Linked DNA regions of Homo sapiens: region 2 is linked to region 1. The links are contacts of gene promoters, found by promoter capture Hi-C in blood cells and fetal thymus (Javierre and others, 2016). All regions are on one chromosome and are shown on one strand. The core of a region is centred on a gene start or on the middle of the fragment in contact, and the rest is flanking DNA. Distances in the headings are between cores, read along the strand shown.

Region 1 (6,701 bases), core at 1,135-3,634:
TCATGAATTCTCCTAATATCACCCTCAGCAAAAGAAGTGTGGATTAGGCATTCAAATCTAAACATCAAGGGGCAGATAAAAACTACAACCACCTAAATTATTGCTCCTATCCCACTCTCAGGTGGAAAGAAGGAAATCTTTCTTCAGCTCTAGAGCATTAAGGAGTAGGATTTGGAGCTTTGTGACTGTTCTTTGCCTATTCCCGTCCCATTGGAATAGGCCCTCAATCTGGCCATGTTATCAGTGGGTGGCTGCTATTTTCCCCACGGTCTCAGGGTGGAAGATAAGGTTTTCATGGAGTTACCCAGAAACGGAGCAAGTAGGGCGTAAAGGGTGGCACAAAAGAGGAATAGAAGACAGAATGAGTCCACATAGCTTTACATATTTGGAAATGAAAAATCCAGGACGTAATGACTCCTGTGACTCTGAATGGCTCTGTGTATTAGTCTTTCAGTTTTCAAAGGGAGTAAATTATATGTGTGAACTGAAACTATATATCTTCTCCCAGTTCTCAGAATTGATCATTTATTTTACATCGCTCTTCAGTCTCTATACCAGTATTTTAGAAGTTGTCATAAGTAATTCCTCTAAGTGCTACCTCGCTGGAGTGGTACTGGAGCAGCAAAGTAGCAAAAGAATACTAGCTGGGAACACAAAATTAATTTTTACAAATTTATCAGTGGCACGTTATTTCTACCAGTCATATAATCAGTAGACTATATAGAAACAGAGGTACTCTAGGGTACCGTACTTGTGCTCTGAATAGCTGCTAGACATGCAGTGCACGGTGCGATGTGTGGTATCTCAACAATGCTTTTCAGAACAAGACTGTAACCTTAAGGTCATGATCAGAAATCACACATTTGAATAATCCATGAATGAAGACGGTGTGTGCGATTAAAAAATACAGTGCTTTCTAGTTAAAATGGGAGATAAGTGAAGGTAATGAAATGTGCACCATTTAAATAACAAAAGTATTGTGGCTATTAGAGATTCACTGTGCTGTTACTCTAATGGTATTAAGAGTTTGGAAGTACAGGCCGGGCGCTGTGGCTCACGCCTGTAATCCCAGCACTTTGGGAGGCTGAGGCGGGCAGATCACGAGGTCAGGAGATCGAGACCATCCTGGCTAACACGGTGAAACCCCATCTCTACCAAAAAATACAAAAAATTAGCCGGGCATGGTGGCGGGCGCCTGTAGTCCCAGCTACTCAGGAGGCTGAGGCAGGAGAATGGCGTGAACCCGGGAGGCGGAGCTTGCAGTGAGCCGAGATCGCGCCACTGCACTCCAGCCTGGGCGACAGAGCGAGACTCCCGTCTCAAAAACAACAACAAAAAAAGAGTTTGGAAGTACAGAGTAGTATTCCAGCTCTTGGAGCCTAGCCACAGGTTTCACAGATGCATCTCCATGCAGAAATGGCTGAAGCTTCCACAGCTAATCTGAACTTTTTAAGGGTTTACATGGCTGGGAATATAATTTTGTATGTATGTCCTTATGTATATACGCGTGTGTGTCCACTAGTTTTTTGCTTGAATGTTTATCATTCCTGTCACTTGCAATTTAAATATTCCTAATAAATAGAAAAATCCAAAGACTAAGATTGTGATCCTTTTTATGTCTATGGTATATTATGAATACAGAGACCTTGTGCTTTTATTGGCGTAGGAATCATCTTGCCCTAATATTAATATTATGAAATCAAAAGGGTAAGATTCCTAACATCCCACATAACACAGCAGACAAACTAAAGTTTTAATCTAGCTTTGGCCCTTACAAATTTTGTGCCCTACGGCAAGTTACATCTCGCTTAGATTTTTTCATTTTAAAGTGGAACTATCTGCATGGATGTTCGTACATGCTATATAACACATCCTATTCCAGAGCCACCTACCATCAGTTGAGCTCTAAATGGTAAATGCCACAGTGAGAAGCAGACAGGAAGGGGCGGAGCGCCAGCGGCGCCCGGGGCTACGCGCCGCACTGCACCGAGCGGCGGCAGCGGCAAGCTTGGGTGTGAGCCCGGGAGCCGCTTTGCTTACCGTCCTGCCGGTCCCAGCCGTCGCTAGGAGGTCCGCGGGCCCTGCGGCAACCCTCGCTACAGACGCTGGGCGGGCGGCGACACCTGGCTCATGGCCCCCGCGGCGGCTCCGTCCTCCTTGGCCGTCAGGGCCTCAAGCCCCGCCGCGACACCCACCTCGTACGGCGTCTTCTGCAAGGGGCTCTCCCGCACCCTGCTCGCCTTCTTCGAGCTGGCCTGGCAGCTGCGCATGAACTTCCCGTACTTCTACGTCGCGGGCTCGGTGATCCTCAACATCCGATTGCAGGTACATATTTAGAGCCATGACTAAGCTAACGGCCTCCGGGGCCAGCATGATGGCCGACTCCCAGGGTCCGTTGCGGCGCGGCGGAGCAGCCAATGGCGAGCCCCACAGTCTCGCGAGAGTGCTCAGGCGCTCTTCGTGGCTGCCCTCTTAGCTGCTAGCGGAGCTCCTCAGGGGGCGGCCGGGAGCCTACAATCCCTAGAAAGAGAATACGCTGTTCCGGAAACAGAACTGCAGTTAAGACCCTCGAAAACATCTAAGAAAGTGTGCATCCTAAAACACCTGACGAATTTCAGAATGTGACAAAGCGCAGAGGATGCATTATTTCAAAACAAAACAGAAGGCTAAAATTTGCAGGAAAAAGAAAATCAGTAAACCGGGAATCCTCGGACTGGATTGTAAGCAAGATTTCAATGAATAAGAAGCTGAAGGTATTAAGGCTGTGATATAGAAGGTACATATTTCATCCCACAAGAGAAAACAATAATAATCAGAAATTTTCGGTGAAAAAAACGCAAAACTGTACAGGAAAATCATCCTCCAAGTACCAGACATAAAATGCTGCAAGCTTTTGAACTAATGGCGAGAGTGTAAGAAAATGGGCTCTACTTCAGTGATCCTGTGGCAGGACGTGGATCAAGACTTGGAACCGCAGAAAACGAAATCCCATAGTAGCACAAAGCTTGGCTGTTCAGTGAATAACATTTAAATAATCGTAAAATACAAATGTTGTTTATGGTTTTTATTGTTTAAGGGCATACTTAATTATGGTTACAAAGTGGAGTGCAAATGTTATTTACCATGTTTTAAAAATACAGCCGGAAAATACAAGTGGGAATGTTGAAGGAGGGCGGGGGAAGTAAATGGAATGGGGGTTATGTCCTTATAAAGTGGAAACTTGAAAGGTACTGTCTGTTGTTGAGTGGGGAAAGACATTTTTATTACTTACAGGGTAGCCATAAAGTTTCTAAAACGGTAATATATTAAAGAGGGAGAGTGGTAGGGGAGAACAGTATGAAGTCAACAGGAAATGGCTAAAGATGGAGAGCTCAGGTAGAATAGTTTAAAAAATGAAAATTGATAGAGTACCTGGTGTATTTGAATACAGCCTAGAGAGCTTTCATTTTCCAAAGAGTGTGGGGATAAATTAGTGAATGCATATTTTTCAAAATTAAGAAAACAGAACATATAATTTTGAACGCTGAGAAAAATAAAAATTTAAAAACTACACTGTATACACGGTATACCTCAACTGTGAATAATAGTAGTCATGTAAAGTCAGTCATAATTATGTAAATACTGAATACTGATTTTACAACAAATGATTCTATAACGCTGGGAGGATGGGAGAAAAGAGATGTGTGTGTGTGTAATGGTGGTGAGCCAATCAAGATCTGATATAGAAAAATGCAGAAAAAGGAGTATACACATGTTTTCTTCGGATTAAAAAAACTAATAATAAATCACCAAGAGTGGTAAAGTTTTAAATCAAGATCTGATATAGAAAAGTGCAGAAAAAGTAGTATACGCATTTTTTTTTTCAGGAAAAAATTAACTAATAAACCACTAAGAGGGGTAAAGTGTTAAAATAGTTGCATTGTTCTATATTCCACTCATTGTGTCCAGCAAACAGTGTTCTATGGCTTTAAGTAGTAAGCATCTTGCCCCGTCCAACACCATGTCTGGCCTAGGGTAATTGTTCTTTCTAGTCTTTATTCTTTGTCTCCAGCCAAACTCCATTTGGGCACATTCTCCTATAGCCTTTTCTACCTGAAGATACTCTGTGTTTTAAAGCTAAGCTTAGGTGGCGCTTTTTCCATTAAATTTTTCCTGGATTCCACTGACCATATAGGAGCTCACTTCTTTTAATCCATAAGGCCATTTTCATAGGTTGCCTTATTTTTCCCTAATCGTGCATCAACTGTCTGTTTTATATACCCAAGACAGGTTTCCTAGACTGCGATAAGCCAAAACATTTTAGTCTAAAATATCAGAAGTGTAGTTTAATCAATGAAATAGTAATACCAAGGGATTTAGAATCGTGGACATCACTGTTTCCCAGAGCACTGATGTCCCAATTTGTAACACAAAAGACTGTCTAGTCTTAATCCTGAAATGGTGACAGAGTAGGATGCTCCATTTGGGTGACTATGTGAACATATTCCTATAACTTTTTTCCTCACATCAGTCATTTGTTAAACCGAAGATGAAGAAACAGACTTTGTATTTATTACATCCTCCAACATAATTGGCAGCTCTGTGAGGGAAGACACTATATCCTATTCAATTTTACACCCGGTAGTAACAGTATGTGTGTGTACTGTATATATACATATATATATACATACACATATATAAATTTAAGTAGTAACTATATATGTATATATGTATAGTTACTACTTACTATATATGTATACAGTATATAAGTATATATGTATAGTTACTACTTACAATATATGCATAAAGTTACAGCTTACATTTACCTCGTAATATATGTATATATATATATTAGGAGTTAAATGTATTAGGAGGTAAATGTAAACTCTGTGGTTTATCATTTATTCACAATTGCTCTTAATTCTTGGGGTATAGTTTGCCTCCTACATGATGCAATTCAGTGAAATTCCCAGGAGACAAAACAAGATTTTGACCTGAATAAACCACTTATTGTTGTAATTCACAAGTGAGTTTATTCTTCCTGGCACACTTCCAGGTAATATCCATTAGGCTAAGGATTTTGTTTGTTCACTGTTCTATCCCCAAGCCTAGAGCACTGCCCAGTGCGGAATAGCTAATAAATATTGTTGAATGGATAGATGAATGGCAATTTTGTTGGTATGCTCTACATAGTCAGCAGTCAATAAAGGAAACATATATTCGTTCCTGATAATAAGATGATTCACTTTATTGCCCATAAATTGGGCTTTTTCAGGCCATCATGCACGTTGATTGATCCAGAGATCCCTCAAGCATGAAAAAGCAGAGACATAGGTGGTATAGTTATTATCAATAGAGATAAGAAATGTAGCTGGCAAAAAAAAAAATGGGAAACGATGCGTTACAGCTTATTTTAACTATAAAAGGAAAACAGTGAACATAGCAACATATGTAACCTAAGGGATAGGGGAAAAGTTGTTTTTTTTTTTTTAATTCTGGGTAAAAATACATGTGATTACTTGACAAATAGCATATCATTACCATCAGCATCATTTTTAAAATATATTGAGTTTTTAATACCAGGAACTATGAAAAACTATTTATATACATGAGCTCCGTAATTCTCACATATACCCTGTGAGGAAAACATTTTTATCATTTTTCAGAGAAGCAAACCGGGATTTAGAGAGGTTAAGTAAATTCCTAAGGTCATGATAACCAACCAGACCTCAAATGAATCTCCAGTAATTCCTAAAGTTATATTTCATAAGGAGTTCAATTTTCTTAAATGTGTAGATAATTACAAATAATTCTGTTTCTCAAATTTCTGGACAGAAATATTACCTGGGTAATAGTTATTTTTTTTAACATAACTATTGAGGGTCTTTCATACTAAAATATAAATATTTAACATGATTTGATATGTAAGTTCAAGTATTTTATACTCTCTGCAGCCTTAAACCTATTGGCTTATTTTATTAGAGGGTTGGTGGGATTGAGGGATATGGGAGCAAAGGGAGAGAGAGGAAAGAACGTTGTCCTCAGAATGGAAGGGAAACACTTTCCTGTGCTACCCAGAGTAGAGATCAGACAATGTTAAATTTTGAAGCCATGTCTGTTCCTGTCCTGAGGATCCCTAACTAAATTTTGTTAGAAAATCTTGCAGTTTGCTTTTAATGGGAGATCTTTCTGGCAGGACATCAATAGCTTTTGATAGCGTCAAGAAGAAAATAAAGTTACATGCAGAAGCATAAAGGGGTAGGATGAAAGTTGAGGAATATAGGGACAAAAGATGAGGGAAAGGAATATCCTAATACTTGGAAGTTTGAGCATGGAAAGTAGTCTAAAGACGACTTGGGAAGTTCCAAGAAAATGAACCAAGAAAAGAACCTCTGCAAGAACTATGAGAATTCCCAACAATTGGGTTGGATTGATTCATATTAGTCTATTACTTGGGTTACCTTGAGTGTGGGGATTCTTCTTGCAGTTTTAACACTTGTACTATGGTCTGAATGTGCCCCCCAAAAATTCACATGTTGGCATTTAACCCCCAAAGTGATGATCTCAGGAGATGGGACCTTTGGGAGGTGATCAGGTCATAAAGATGAAACCCTCGTGAATGGGATTAGTGCCTTTATAAAGGAGACCCCAAAATAATTCCCTTACCCCTTTTGCCATGTAAGGTTATAGGGAAAAGTCATCTATGAACAAGGAAATGAACC
Region 2 (7,117 bases), core at 2,722-5,221, 1.2 Mb after region 1:
AAAAAAAAAAAGGTATCAGTGCTTCCCAACTTGAGCTACAGATTAAATACAGTCTTAATCAAAAGCCCAAAGTTATTTTTTGGATATCAACCAACTGATTTTAAAATTTACATGGAAATGCAGAAAAGACCAAGAACAGTCCAGAATACTAAAGAACAAAGTTGGAAGACTGATACTACCTGACTTCAACACTTACCGTAAAGCTACAATAATCAAAAAAGTATGGTATTAGAAAAAGAATAGACAAACAGATCAATGGAATGGAATAGTAAACCCAGAAATAGACCCTCACAAAGAGAGTCAACTGATCTTTGACAAAGGAGCAAAGGGGATTCAATGGAGAAAGGACAGTCTTTTCCAAAAATGGTACTGGAACAACTGGATATCCATTTGCAAAAATGAATAAATAAATAAATCTAGCCACATACTTTACACCTTTCACAAAATTTAGCTCTAAATGGATCACAGACCTAAATGTAAAATATAAAACCATAAAATTTCTAGAAAATAACAGAAGAAAATCCTTGTGACCTTAGATTAGGTGATGAGTTTTTAAATACAATACCAAAAGCACACTCCATGAAAGAAAAATTTGATGTTGGACTTCATTAAATTTAAAAACTTCTGCTCTACAAAAGATACCGTTAAAGAGAATGAAAAGATAAACCACAGACTTGGAGGAAATATTTGAGGTGGTTTTTTTTTTTTTGGAGGAAATATTTGTGAAACACACATCTGATAAAGCAGCAGTCCATAGCCTTTCTCGCACCAGGGACCAGTTTCATGGAAGACAATTTTTCCATGGACGGCGTTGTGGGGGTATGGTTCAGGATGATTCAAGTGCATTGTATTTATTGTGCACTTTATTTCTATTATTACATTATAATATATAACGACATAATTATACAACTCAACATAATGTAGAATCAGTGGGAGCCCTGAGCTTGTCTTCCTGCAACTAGACAGTACCATCTGGGGGTGATGGGAGACAGTGACAGATCATCAGGCATTAGATTCTCATAAGGAGTGTGCAGCCTAGATCCCTCACATGTGCAGTTCACAACAGGGTTCGTGCGCCGATGAGAATCTACGGCCACCACTGATCTGACAGGAGGTGGAGCTCAGGCAGTAATGCATAATGTAAATACAGAGGAAGCTTTGCTCTCTGGCCCACTGCTCACCTCCTGCTGTGTGGCCCATTTCCTAATAGGTACTGGTCTGCGGCCCAGGGGTTGGGGAACCCTGTGATAAAGGACTGGTATCCAAAATATACAAAGAACTCAAGTCAGCAATAAGAAAAGAAACTCAATGGACAGAAGATCTGAGCAGACACCTTATCAAAGAAGATATACAGATGACAAATAAGCATATGAAAAGGTATCTAACATCATATGTCATTAGGGGATTGCAAATTCAAACAAGATACCACTACCCACCTATGAGAATGGCTAAAATCCAAAAAATGGACAATACCAAATACAAGGACATGGAGCAACAGAAATTCTCGCCTGGGCGCGGTGGCTCACATCTGTAATCCCAGCACTTTGGGAGGCCAAGGTGGGCAGATCACTTGAGGTCAGGAGTTTGAGATCAGCCTGACCAACATGGTGAAACCCCATCTCTACTAAAAAAAAATACAAAAATTAGCCAGATATGGTGGCAGGTGCCTGTAATCCCAGCTACTTGGGAGGCTGAGGCAGAAGAATCGCTTGAACCCGGGACGTGGAGGTTGCAGTGAGCCGAGATCATGCCACTGCACTCCAGCCTGGGCAACAGAGTGAGACCCTATCTCAAAAAAGAAAAAAAAAAAAGGAAAAATTCTCATTCATTGCTGTTGGGGAATGCAAAATGGTACAGCCACTTTGGGAGAAGTTTGGCAGTTTCTTACCAAGCTAAATGCAGCCTTACCATACAATTCAGCAATTGTCCTCCTATGTATTCACTCAAATGAATTGAAAACTTATGTCCACACAAAAATCTGCAATAGAATATTTGTAGTAGCTTTATTCATAATTGCCAAAAACTAAAAGCAACCAAGATGCCCATCAATAGATGAATAAACAAAATGAGATACATCCATACATTGGAATATTACTCAGTAATAAAAATAAATGAACTATCAAGCCACAAAAAGACATGGAGGAATCTTAACTGCATATTCCTAAGTCAAAGAAGCCAGTCTGAACAGATATGAATCTAACTGTATGACGTTCTAAAAAAGGCAAACTACAGCGGCAGTAAGAAGGCCAGTGGTCACCAGGAGAACAGGAGTGGGAGGATGAATCGGTGGAGTGCAAGGGATATTTGGGGCATTGAGACTATTCTGTATAACACTGTAATGGAGGATACATGTTATTGAACATCTGTCAAAACCCATAGAAATGTAAAACACACAGAGTGAACATTATGTGAACTATGGACTTTTAGTTTTAAAAAAAGGTAAAACCAAAAAAAAAAAAAAACCCAGAAACAAACCAGTATATGGTAATAAAACACAAGTCTAATACTTTTCTTGCTGTTTGTCAAAATTCTGTATACAGTAAAATAGTAACATTTATTGCGTCTAAAATGCCAGTTTCTATGCTAAGCACTTTATATATATCATGTCATTTAATCTTTACAGATCCCATTATTATCCTCATTTTAGTTAAAACTTACAAAAAGTTGTGGGACATAATATGTGCTTCTTTATTAACCTATTAAGTAACAAGTGGTCATCTAATAACTGCCATAATTTTGACGTGGTATTGAGTATAGATAATATTTTGAAACGTGCAACAAGTCATGTGATATAAAGATATCGGCAATATTTACAGGGGGCAAATCATAGCTACTGCTAATACTACTGTGGCTTTTGCCTACATTCCATTTCAGAAGTCGGTGAAATAATAATTTTTTCCACTCAAGTTCACAGACATCCTGAATTCTATCCATGGATACCTTATCGTGGACTCCCCAGGTTAATAATTCTGGCCAAGGTACTTAATACGCTGCCATATTTTGCAAGCCTCTAGGGAATCAAGAGAAAACCAGGCCAATACTTTATTTTGAATGGATTCTAATGTAGCCTCTTTTCAAGCTTTTGCAAAGAAACCTGAACTATGTAAGGAGATGGGGCAGGAGTTGTTTTCAGTATGCAGCATTGAGAGAAGTGTTTAAGAGTTTTATATCATTAAAGAGGCTCAGCAATATTAGGTTAGCGACGTTTTCTAATCCATTATTATTTAGGCTTTAAGGGCCTGAAGTCGAGTTGAATCTTGTTGAAAGACGGGGTAAAAGGATACAGGCGGGTGAGAGAGGATGCCCCTGAGTTTTAACGTCTGCATACAAGAGTCGCTAAAACTTACTCGCACGTAATTAGTTCAAATATTGGAAATCGTCTTACAGCACACTATAATTTACCAAGATGCTTATAACTGTATACACACACACACTCTACAGAGAATTAGACAATTAGCAGTTTCAATAATGAATACAGAGTCAACGACAAGAAAACAGGGAACATTTTCTCTTCCTTTGAGGAAATGCATGTTGCCTACTGAGCTATTCTTCTGCCTCTCCTTCTGATGTCAACGCAGAGCCAGAGCCATTTATGGCAGGTGCCTTGAGCCCGCCTAGAGGTCCCCTTTGGAATACTGCAGCGACTCAAGGATCCTGGTCAGCCCTTATTGGCCCCAGCTGGTCCTTTGGATGCTCGGGTGTGGGTGAAGGAGCCTCGGCCCCTGGAAAGGAGGGGACCGACTCTCTCCGCAGGTAGCGACGTCGCCTGCGGCCGGTCGGGGGTGGGTATTGGGGAGACCCCTTTACCTGGCGTCGAGAGGACCCCGGCGCCCCTGCTGCCATCCAGGTGCGAGGACAGCTCTGTCGCGCCCGCGGGAAGGACCGGCGAATCCGCGCGGGGGTCTCGGCGAGGACCGCAGCGGATGCTCCGCAGCTCCCGCACCGGCCTGGCGGGTTTTGTGGTTAGCAAGTTCCTGCTTCCGTCGCAGCGACGGCAAGTTTGCCGCGGGGGAAGGGCACGTTCCTGCCCTGCAACCCGGAGCTGCTTCCCGGCAACATTAGCGCGTCCCTCCCCGCGGAGGCTCCGGGCTCCCGGCCCCAGCGCTGAGCCCCGCAGGGAGGTGGCTCCCCCCACCGCCCCGCGCTCCCCCCCAGCTCAGCCACACCGCTGACCCCGGGCTGGGCGCGCTGCGAGGGGGAGTGCGTGCCTCCCTGCTGGTGGCCCGAGGGTCTGCAGGTGAGCCTTGCCTCGCGGCCCGCGCAAGTTAAAATAAATGCACATGGGGAAAATGTCAAACAGTACAAAAATAGACACAGAGACAAGTCTACCCCTCACCCCCGTGCCCCAGTCTCCTAGTCTCCCTCCTCAGAGGCAACCACTGAGAGCAGTTTTTTGATGTTCAAGGGCTTATAGTGCATCCTATTGGGGGCATAGTTCTGAGAATCCTCTTTCCATAATTGGAGGATGGAGTCCTCAATTAAAGATGGCAATTCTTGAGTTAAATATTATCTGCAAGACAAACTTCAGGGAAGGTATTTGGCTTTCTGCGGGATTTATTGTTTGTAGATAGGATAATAATGGTGAAAATGCTGGTGTCTGTAACATATATTAAAACTGTATCCCTAACACTTAGCATAGTGCCTGGTACACAATAGGTGCTCAGTAAATATTTAACTAAAATATTTTTGTTGACTGAATGAATGGAAAAGAACTGCATAGGGCATAGGTTGTGGAAGTTTCTAAATTACTGCTGGCCCCATCCCCACCTCCATAAACACACACACAAATGCAACGTTACTAAACCATTGACACTTAGTTTGCCATATGGTCTAACCTTTGACAGTATCTTCACCTCTGTTTTGAAAGAGCTTGCAGACCTGAAGCGCTATGCAATTGCAAGTTAAGTCTAGGCCTGTACGGCCAACAGCTACACACCCTAGTCTTAACCAATAACTACAGGAGGATTAGGTTGACTGAGAATGCTTGTGAACAAAGGTCCATTGTGTGAAACTAACTCTACTTGTAACCAAAGGATGACTCTTGAATTACAATGTTGCTAAAGCTAGGTTTGAAAGAGTTACCAAAGAAAAGTAAACACCAGAGTAATTTCCCATTGCAGTGATTTTCCTGATGCAACAAGGGACTGATCTGCAAGTGTGTTTTATCTTTTATCATCTGATACACTTCAGGGTTCAGGGTGTAGAGCTATCACAGTTTTTGAATCTCTCTACATGGGGTAATCCATGCTAGTTACAAAGTAGACCTTTCCATTATTAGAAACTTCGTATTCGGTGCTTTAATACAATGAACCTGTTTCTTTTTTTGTTTTGTTTTGTGTTTTGTTTGTTTTTAGAGACGGAGTCTCGCTGTGTTGCCCAGGCTGGAGTGCAGTGGTGTGATCTCGGCTCACTGCAACCTCCACCTCCCGGGTTATAGCAATTCTTTTGCCTCAGACTCCTGAGTAGCTGGGACTACAGGCACATGCCGCCACGCCCAGCTAATTTTTTTCTATTTTAGTAGAGATGGGGTTTCACCGTGTTGCCCAGGCTGGTCTCGAACTCCTGAGCTCAGGCAATCCGCCCGCCTCGGCGTCCCAAAGTGCTAGGATTACAGGCGTGAGCCACTGTGCCCGGCCTGAACCTGTTTTCATTGAAGTGATATGTTATTTTTTCAGTTATGACAGTGAACAAAGGATATTGATTAAAATAATGATTAAAGAAATATTTTCTATTATATATGTTTAATTTATAAATATCATTGTTTATTTATTCATTTTTTTAGACAGGGTCTCGCTCTGTTGCCCACACTGGAGTGCAATGGCACAATCACGACTCACTGCAGCTTTGACCACCTGGGCTCAAGTGATTCTTTTGCCTCAGTCTCTTGAGTAGCTGGGACCACAAACGCACACCACACCCAGCTAATGTTCTTAATTTTTTTTTTTTTTTTAATTTTGAGATGGAGTCTCGCTCTGTTGCCCAGGCTGGAGTGCAGTGGCACGATCTCAGCTCACTGCAACTTCTGCCTCCCAGGTTCAAGCAATTCTCCTGCTTCAGTCTCCTGAGTAGCTGAGATTACAGGCTCATGCCACCATGCCCAGCTAATTTTTGTATTTTTAGTAGAGTCGGGGTTTCACCATGTTGGTCAGGCTGGTCTTGAACTCCTGACATCAAGTGATCTGCCCACCTTGGCCTCCCAAAGTGCTGGGATTATAGGCGTGACCCACCGTACCCGGTGTTTTAAATTATTTGTATAGATGAGGTCTTGCTACATTGCCCAGGCTAGTCTCAAACTCCTGGGCTCAAGCAATCCTCCTGCTTTGGCCTCCCAAAGTGCTGGGATTACAGGTGTGAGCCACTGCACTTGGCTTACTTAAAAATAAAATAAAAACTTTAATTTCTGGCCTGAGTCATAACTTAGAAATTATATCCATTGTCACTTCATTTCCTGAAGAGATTCTTGACACTCTTCTCTGAGGGTTAGAAGTCCCATCTATGTGGAGAAAGATTTCTTTAAAAGTAATCGGAAAACATGTATTAAGCAGCCAGGCGCAGTGGCTCACGCCTGTAATCCCAGCACTTTGGGAGGCCGAGGCGGGTGGATCACGAGGTCAGGAGATCGAGACCATCCTGGCTAACATGGTGAAACCCTGTCTCTAATAAAAATACAAAAAATTAGCTGGGTATGGTGGCGCGCGCCTGTAGTCCCAGCTATTGGGGAGGCTGAGGCAGAAGAATGGTGTGAACCCAGGAGGTGGAGCTTGTAGTGAGCCGAGATCGAGCCACTGCACTCCAGCCTGGGTGAAAGAGTGAGACTCTGTCTCAAAAAACAAACAAACAAACAAACAAACAAACAAAAAAAAAAACATGTATTAAGCACCTGCAGGGGAAACTAAAGACCAGTAATACCAATGAGATCTACCTTTAAGATGTTCATAGTTCAGAAGGAGAAAAAGTAAATCAATGGCTGTGTAAACAGTTAAGTGTGATGAAGGCCAGGTGTAGTGGCTCATGCCTGTAATTCCAGTGCTTTGGGAAGCCAAGGCAGGAGGATCACTTAAGCCCAGGAGTTTGAGGCCAGCCTGAGCAGCATAGCAAGACTCCATCTCTACAAAAA

What was found. Contacts are between HindIII fragments. The CHiCAGO score rates a contact against its expected background, and 5 or more counts as called.
Region 2: a contact is called between the fragment with the promoter of MANSC1 here and the fragment with the promoter of PRH1-TAS2R14 in region 1, in 3 of 17 cell types (non-activated CD4 T cells, total CD4 T cells and monocytes). The highest score is 6.8, in non-activated CD4 T cells.

Annotation. Positions count from the first base shown.
Region 1 is chr12:11,169,227-11,175,927 of GRCh38, forward strand. It overlaps PRH1-TAS2R14 (PRH1-TAS2R14 readthrough), which reads right to left and starts at 2,385. Exons shown (of 5, transcript NM_001316893.2): 1 at 2,196-2,385. SMIM10L1 (small integral membrane protein 10 like 1) reads left to right here and starts at 1,968. Exons shown (of 1, transcript NM_001271592.2): 1 at 1,968-6,701. The coding sequence starts at 2,131. The coding sequence ends at 2,337. PRH1-PRR4 (PRH1-PRR4 readthrough) reads right to left here and starts at 2,399. Exons shown (of 10, transcript NR_037918.2): 1 at 2,196-2,399. It also overlaps a transcript of PRH1 not described here. The HindIII fragment of the contact is 883 bases long and covers 2,006-2,888 here.
Region 2 is chr12:12,346,271-12,353,387 of GRCh38, forward strand. MANSC1 (MANSC domain containing 1) reads right to left here and starts at 3,972. Exons shown (of 4, transcript NM_018050.4): 1 at 3,808-3,972. RefSeq lists a silencer at 3,973-4,282. The HindIII fragment of the contact is 5,175 bases long and covers 3,078-7,117 here.